Regions from separate parts of the Homo sapiens genome. Here region 2 is linked to region 1. Evidence: promoter capture Hi-C in 16 types of primary human blood cells and fetal thymus (Javierre and others, 2016). All regions are on one chromosome and are shown on one strand. Each heading gives the region's core, a stretch centred on a gene start or on the middle of the fragment in contact. The rest is flanking DNA. Distances are from core to core; before and after follow the strand shown.

Evidence for each region. Contacts are between HindIII fragments. The CHiCAGO score rates a contact against its expected background, and 5 or more counts as called.
Region 2: a fragment that was not itself captured here is called in contact with the fragment with the promoter of CBLN3 in region 1 in 1 of 17 cell types (naive B cells); the score reaches 5.1 in naive B cells.

The regions. Positions count from the first base shown.
Region 1 is chr14:24,426,999-24,430,917 of GRCh38, reverse strand. It overlaps CBLN3 (cerebellin 3 precursor), which reads left to right and starts at 1,250. Exons shown (of 3, transcript NM_001039771.3): 1 at 1,250-2,163; 2 at 2,513-2,632; 3 at 2,932-3,919. The coding sequence starts at 1,864. The coding sequence ends at 3,129. It overlaps KHNYN (KH and NYN domain containing), which reads right to left and starts at 964. Exons shown (of 8, transcript NM_015299.3): 1 at 799-964; 2 at 1-204. The coding sequence starts at 187. RefSeq lists enhancers at 1-233, 378-557 and a silencer at 588-1,127. The HindIII fragment of the contact is 4,979 bases long and covers 533-3,919 here.
Region 2 is chr14:23,325,868-23,329,786 of GRCh38, reverse strand. BCL2L2-PABPN1 (BCL2L2-PABPN1 readthrough) reads right to left here. Exons shown (of 8, transcript NM_001387346.1): 8 at 3,624-3,919. PABPN1 (poly(A) binding protein nuclear 1) reads right to left here. Exons shown (of 7, transcript NM_004643.4): 7 at 3,624-3,919. Among named protein-coding and RNA genes, the nearest start is that of PABPN1, 6.4 kb to the right of the region's middle. RefSeq lists a silencer at 1,505-1,594. The HindIII fragment of the contact is 1,983 bases long and covers 806-2,788 here.

The sequences.
Region 1 (3,919 bases), core at 1-2,500:
CGTTTTCCTTGGGGCCCTCCAGCTGCAGCCAGATGTGGGGGTTGTCCGGACAGTCCTTCGGAAGGACGCTCACCCCCACGCTGAAGATGCGCTCCACATGGGGCTGCTGTTCCCGAACCTTGTTCTCAGCCTCCGCAGACACCGCAAAGCGATCTGGGGACGCGGGGCGGGCCCCCCAGGTAGGCATGGCTGCTGCCCCCAGCCCTGGAAGGGGAGAAGGCAGCTCAGAGCCTCATTGTACCCTCCATCCAAATCCTGGTTCCTGGGACTACACCAGCTATCAACAGGTCGCACCTAGTTAAGGCTCTGGTAAACAGCCCCAGGAGGTGACAAGCATCTGAGTCCACTGGAGGTAGGGAGGGTGTATGTCACGCAGGCCTCTCCGGAGAGGAAGTCCCGGTAAACAAGGCTGTCTATCGAGAGTGGGCGTCTGGGCTTTGGAAAAGGATGACCACAGTCCGGAGCAAGAAGGGTGGGGGGGCTCCAGCTCGGCCTGGAGGCCAGAAGGAGTCTCCTGGGGCACTCTGAAGCTTCTTAAGGACGAATCCTCAGCAGGGGATTGAACTAGGCTGTCCTCTGGGGGCCCTGGTCTGCCATTTCCAAGGTTCAAGCCACTCCCACCCCTCCCCCAGCCGTCCGCTGCCCCTCTCCGTCGGGCCAGGAGCACCGCCCAGGGCCCAGGGGCCGGGCCGGGCCGGGCCCGCCCACCGCGGACTGGGGCAGCCACCCCGGGCCGGGCCTACTCCGCACCGCGGCCCCCGCTCCCCGCTCCCGGGCGCGGTGGAGGGGCGCGCCTACCGCCTCCGCCGCCCGCGCCGGCTTCAGGTCCTCTCAGCGCCCGCCAGGCCCCCGCTTTGCCCGCGCCCCCAGCCCAGGGGACAAGGGCAGGGGGCCCGAATCTGGGCGGGCCTTCCCGGGTTCCTCACCCAGCGGGGACCTCTCTTGTCCACATCGCACGCAAACTGTTTCTTGAGTCACTTCCTGGCCTGGGGCGGAGTCAGCCCAGCTCCTCCCGGCTGCGCGCCCTCCTCCCAACCCCGCCGCCGCGCCCAGAGGCCCCGACGGGCCCGCTCGGCCTAGTCCCCTCGGCGGCTCCAGGGCTCGCCCCTTGCGCTTCTCACCAGCCCTCCCGTCTGTCTCCCGGCCCTCAGGGTCCTCGCGCATTCTGCGCAGTTACTTCTCGGAAAGGGGAACCATGCGTTGAAAGTTGTTTCCCGCGAATAAAGATGTGGCCGACCAAAGAGGCAGCGTGACTGGCCCACTGGTGCTCTAGGCCCAAGCACTTTCCACCAAAGCAATCGTGGCGGAGGGGGTAGGCGGGAGGCGGGAGGCGGAGGGTACCCGTGGTGGAGTACCCCTTTCTTCCAACAAACGGAAAGATGCCACGAAGAAGGGCTGTTGATTTGTGGGGGATTTTGAAGAGAGGAAGAGTAGGAGGAAGGGGTTGAGGGGCTGCCTCTGGCATATGCACACACTCACACATTCTGTCACACCCGTCACACACACATACCATGTTCTCCATCCCCCCAGGTCCAGCCCTCAGTGCTGTCCCATCCAGCAGGGCTGCCCTGAAGCTCTGGCTGCAGCCCTCCCGTCCAGTGGGCAGGCGGCTTCATCCCTCCTTTCTCTCCCAAAGCCCAACTGCTGTCACTGCATGCTCTGCCAAGGAGGAGGGAACTGCAGTGACAGCAGGAGTAAGAGTGGGAGGCAGGACAGAGCTGGGACACAGGTATGGAGAGGGGGTTCAGCGAGCCTAGAGAGGGCAGACGATCAGGGTGCCGGCGGTGAGAATCCAGGGAGAGGAGCGGAAACAGAAGAGGGGCAGAAGACCGGGGCACTTGTGGGTTGCAGAGCCCCTCAGCCATGTTGGGAGCCAAGCCACACTGGCTACCAGGTCCCCTACACAGTCCCGGGCTGCCCTTGGTTCTGGTGCTTCTGGCCCTGGGGGCCGGGTGGGCCCAGGAGGGGTCAGAGCCCGTCCTGCTGGAGGGGGAGTGCCTGGTGGTCTGTGAGCCTGGCCGAGCTGCTGCAGGGGGGCCCGGGGGAGCAGCCCTGGGAGAGGCACCCCCTGGGCGAGTGGCATTTGCTGCGGTCCGAAGCCACCACCATGAGCCAGCAGGGGAAACCGGCAATGGCACCAGTGGGGCCATCTACTTCGACCAGGTAATCCCCCTACCCCTGTCCAGGGGACCTGGAAAGACCCTGCAAGGACCTGGAAGCAACTGTCCAAGCCCACTTTGCTGTCTCTGAGGCTTTAAGAAAACAGCTTCCTACATCTTTCACTAATCTGGCCTATTGCCCCACCACCCCACCGACGGTTTCCCCTCCCTCCACCCATACGCAGCCCTCTCCTTGCCCCTTCTCACCATTTCTTTTGAATCTGTTCACTCCTATTCACTCCTACTTGCCACTCCTTCTATTCATTACTCACTGCCCCTGCCCCTAGTCCCCATGGTACCCCTGAGCCATGGGCATTTCCTGAGCCCCACTCAGCAGGCTCTGCTTCCCCCAGGTCCTGGTGAACGAGGGCGGTGGCTTTGACCGGGCCTCTGGCTCCTTCGTAGCCCCTGTCCGGGGTGTCTACAGCTTCCGGTTCCATGTGGTGAAGGTGTACAACCGCCAAACTGTCCAGGTGACCTCAGCACTGGCCCCCATCCCCGGCTCAGGAGGGTGGGGAGGGGGAAGAAGGGGAGCCCAGCTGACCTCCGGGTGGACTCTCCATTGACCTGTGTCCTGGAGGCCAGGACCAGGGGAGGAATGGGCCTGCCTTGCATTGAGTGTGGAGGATGTGCAGAGTCCAATGCTGGCCGCCCCTCAGCCCTCCCGGGAGAGCCCATTAAAACCCAGCTTCCCAAGAGGAAGCTCCTGGGAAAGTGGGGGGTCCTGAGCTAAGGGCTGGGGAATGGGGGCTAACTGGGCTCCCCTCCCCAGGTGAGCCTGATGCTGAACACGTGGCCTGTCATCTCAGCCTTTGCCAATGATCCTGACGTGACCCGGGAGGCAGCCACCAGCTCTGTGCTACTGCCCTTGGACCCTGGGGACCGAGTGTCTCTGCGCCTGCGTCGGGGGAATCTACTGGGTGGTTGGAAATACTCAAGTTTCTCTGGCTTCCTCATCTTCCCTCTCTGAGGACCCAAGTCTTTCAAGCACAAGAATCCAGCCCCTGACAACTTTCTTCTGCCCTCTCTTGCCCCAGAAACAGCAGAGGCAGGAGAGAGACTCCCTCTGGCTCCTATCCCACCTCTTTGCATGGGACCCTGTGCCAAACACCCAAGTTTAAGAGAAGAGTAGAGCTGTGGCATCTCCAGACCAGGCCTTTCCACCCACCCACCCCCAGTTACCCTCCCAGCCACCTGCTGCATCTGTTCCTGCCTGCAGCCCTAGGATCAGGGCAAGGTTTGGCAAGAAGGAAGATCTGCACTACTTTGCGGCCTCTGCTCCTCCGGTTCCCCCACCCCAGCTTCCTGCTCAATGCTGATCAGGGACAGGTGGCGCAGGTGAGCCTGACAGGCCCCCACAGGAGCCCAGATGGACAAGCCTCAGCGTACCCTGCAGGCTTCTTCCTGTGAGGAAAGCCAGCATCACGGATCTCAGCCAGCACCGTCAGAAGCTGAACCAGCACCGTATGGGCTAGGGTGGGAGGCTCAGCCACAGGCAGAAGGGTGGGAAGGGCCTGGAGTCTGTGGCTGGTGAGGAAGGAAGGAGGGTGTATTGTCTAGACTGAACATGGTACACATTCTGCATGTATAGCAGAGCAGCCAGCAGGTAGCAATCCTGGCTGTCCTTCTATGCTGGATCCCAGATGGACTCTGGCCCTTACCTCCCCACCTGAGATTAGGGTGAGTGTGTTTGCTCTGGCTGAGAGCAGAGCTGAGAGCAGGTATACAGAGCTGGAAGTGGACCATGGAAAACATCGATA
Region 2 (3,919 bases), core at 548-3,047, 1.1 Mb after region 1:
TAAAGGCCGGGCATGGTGGCTCACGCTTGTAATCCCAGCACTTTGGGAGGCCGAGGTGGGTTAACCACGAGATCAGGAGATCGAGACCAGCCTGACCAACATGTTGAAACCCCGTCTCTACTAAAAATACAAAAAATTAGCCAGGCATGTGGCGCATGCCTGTAATCCTAGCTACTCAGGAGGCTGAGGCAGGAGAATTGCTTGAACCTGGGAGGTGGAGGTTGCAGTGAGCTGAGATGGCACCACTGCACTCCAGCTTGGGCGACAGAGTGAAACTCCGTCTCAGGAAAAAAAAAAAAAAAGAGGAAGAAAACTACCAGCTCCAGGTAAAAGGCAACACTATTGTTGTTACCGCCTTCTCCAGGACAGGAAAGGCAAGCCCAGGGTGAATAAGCAACTTTTGGGCACCTACTAAATGGCAGGCCCTGTGAGGCAGACACAAAGTCACAATTGATGCCCTCAAGAAGCTTGCATTCGGCCGGGCGCGGTGGCTCACGCCTGTAATCCCAGCACTTTGGGAGGCCGAGGCGGGTGGATCATGAGGTCAGGAGATCGAGACCATCCTGGCTAACAAGGTGAAACCCCGTCTCTACTAAAAATACAAAAAATTAGCCGGGCGCGGTGGCGGGCGCCTGTAGTCCCAGCTACTCGGGAGGCTGAGGCAGGAGAATGGCGTGAACCCGGGAAGCGGAGCTTGCAGTGAGCCGAGATCCCGCCACTGCAGTCCGCAGGCCAGCCTGGGCGACAGAGCGAGACTCCGTCTCAAAAAAAAAAAAAAAAAAAAAAAAAAAAAAAAGAAGAAGCTTGCATTCTAGTGGGAAAACAGAAATGTAGTTAGTTTCATTATAAAACCACAAAGTAAATATTAAACAGGGATAGGAACAGTTTGTCCTGACTGCAGGAGTGATTACTTCTGACTTGGAAATCAGGAAAGGCTTCATGTCTGTTGTACCTGGCTTACACTTGGAAGGATATGCGTGATTTTCATAGAAGAGTTGGAATGAGCATAGCAGGCTAGAGGGAACAGCATGAGGGATACATGAAAATAAATAACAACTACAATGCATAGTACATCAGGTGTAGGGCAGGATCTGGAAGAGAAATGTAATCAGGATCAGATTGAAAAAGGTTGTAGTTCCATGCTTGTGTTTGGACTTTGTACTTATTGGTGGCATCATAGAGGGCTTTTTTTGGCAATAAGAAGTTTGGAGGCTGAGCATGGTAGCTTACGCCTATAAACCTAGCACTTTGGGAGGCCGAGGCAGGAGGATTGCTTGAGGCCAAGAGTTCAAGATCAACTTGGCCAACATAGCGAGACCCTATCTTTTAAAGTACTTTTTTTAGGAATTTTTATTTTTCAAAAAAAAATTTGAAGCCAATACATCTGCCAGGACCCCTGCAATGATGATGGGGAGTTACTCAAGCAGTGAAAGTAGGAATAGAGAGAACAGACAAGATATGGTAGAATTGACTGAATATGGAAAACTAAACCAGAGAAGGGTCAAAACATGATTCACCCTCCAATACCCAACAATTTATGGGGATCTTTTAGAGCCAGCCATTTAGTGCCCCCTGGTGGACAGATGAGACCATCACAGCATTAACAGCAACAAGTCACTTAGGCTGTTTCATTCTTCCAGTAAAAAGTTTATATTGAACACTATCCAGACCCTCACTAATCAGCCTCTGCAGAAGCCACAGAGATCACGGCACTATTTTAGGTGAATCTAGTTAGGAGAAAAGATAGACCTCAAATGCCTAACCCATAACAGAAAGTAGAATAAATGACCAAATCCTAAAATATGTGGTGGATAACACTGACATGAGATTTTAGAAAATACTGCAATTTGAGAGGTGGGTTAAGGCTTCAGATATAACAGAGTTTTTTGTTTTGTTTGTTTTGAGACAGAGTCTCGCTCTGTCACCCAGGCTGGAAGTGCAGTGGCTGAGTCTCAGCTCACCTCAATCTCCACCTCCTATGTTCAAACGATTCTCCTGCCTTAGCCTCCAGAGTAGCTGGGACTACAGGTGCATGCCACCACACCTGGCTAATTTTTGTATTTTTAGTAGAGACGGGATTTCACCATGTTGGCCAGGCTGGTCTCAAACTCCTGACCTCAAGTGATCCGCCCACCTCTGCCTCCCAAAGTGCTGAGACTGCAGGTGTGAGCCACTGCGCCCGGCCACAGAGCCATTTCTTTAACATATGATTTTTGAAGAGCATCCAGGTCAGAGGCAATTGTGAACAAAACATCCTGAGAAGTAAATGAAAAAATAGTAAGGTTGAAATACTAAGAAATTCTATAGGTAATGAAGTCTGAAGGTTCAACCTGGCTAGTGATGTAGTGTTCAAGTTTTAAGACCAATCTGACACTGGAATAAAAAATGGAGAAATTAGGATGCCCAAGACAAAATTTAGATATGAAAACAGTGAAAGCCAGTTGTGAAGTCCTAATAAACTAATCCTGGCCAGGAGCTGTGGCTCACGCCTATAGGAAGGCCAAGCCAGGAGGACTGCTTGAGCTCAGGAGTTTGGGACAGCCTGGGCAACACAGCAAAACTGTCTCTACAAAAAATTAGCCAAGTGTGAAGGCAGGCACCTATAGTCACAGCTATGTAGGACACTGAGGTGGGAGGATCACTTGAGCCCGGGAGGTTGAGGCTGCAGTGAGCCACTGCACTCCAGCCTGGGTGACAAAGCAAGACCATCTCAAAAAAATAAATGATCCAATTAATATAAGTTAGCTGGACACATTAAATGGTTACTGCATGGTTGGAAAAACAAGCTTTCCGATTGTCTCTTAGCTAAGTGTATTTTGTCTTCTGCATTTCTTGGGCCCACCTTGAGGTAGAAAAGGTAGCTGGGTGCAGTGGTTCACACTTGTAATCCCAATACTTTGGGAGGCTAAGATGGGAAGATTGCTTGGTCAACATAGCGAGACCCCAAAGACAAGGTTACCCAGACCCCAATCCAAAGCTCTAGGGCTGCAGGCATGGATAGTTCATTTGCACGTAAGCTGTATCAGGAGCACACAAAAGCGCCATTAGGTCAGTAATTCGGCTATTCCTTTTTTTATTTTGAGACAGTTTCACTCTGTCACCCAGGCTGGAGTGCAGTGGTGTGAACTTGGCTCACTGCAAGCTCCACCTCCTGGGTTCACGCCATTCTCCTGGCTCAGCCTCCCGAGTAGCTGGGACCACAGGCACCCGCCACCTCGTCAGGCTAATTTTCTGTATTTTTAGTAGAGGTGGGGTTTCGCCATGTTAGCCAAGATGGTCTTGATCTCCTGACCTCGTGATCTGCCCACCTCAGCCTCCCAAAGTCCTGGGATTGTAGCAGTGAGCCACCATGCCCGGCCCAATTCAGCTATTCTTTTACTTTCCCAGGCTTATTTCTCTCTCAAATGCCAATCAGGGTTACATGTTATCCAGAAAACCTATCATTCTCAACTAAACACATAATGTTCCTGCTAGTTGTAATGTAATTCCTACTCCTTAATTCACAAGTGGCAACCTCCCTTCCACAACACCAGTACTTCTACCACAAGGCAGAATTAATAGCCATCTGCGATCTAAGAGAGAATAGGAAGATAAATAATCCTTACACCCAAAAGGCCAAACAATTTTTATTTTCAAAAACAACTTTATTCATGACACATATTAAAAAAAAATTCCCACCCCTGGAAATGAGCTAAAAAAATAAACAAAATCCACCTCCCACCTCCCTGTTCCCACTTCCTCCCATTCCCTCCAAATAAAAGGGAAAAAAGGCAAAGGAAAAAAAAAAAAAACAAAAAAACAAAACAACTGAAAAACAAAAACACCCCTAAACCCCCCAAAACAAGGTAGTGCATTTCCCCAGGGGGAAGGGGAATTTACACTGGAGCCGCTGGGAGCGGAACGGAGATCTTCCGGCTAC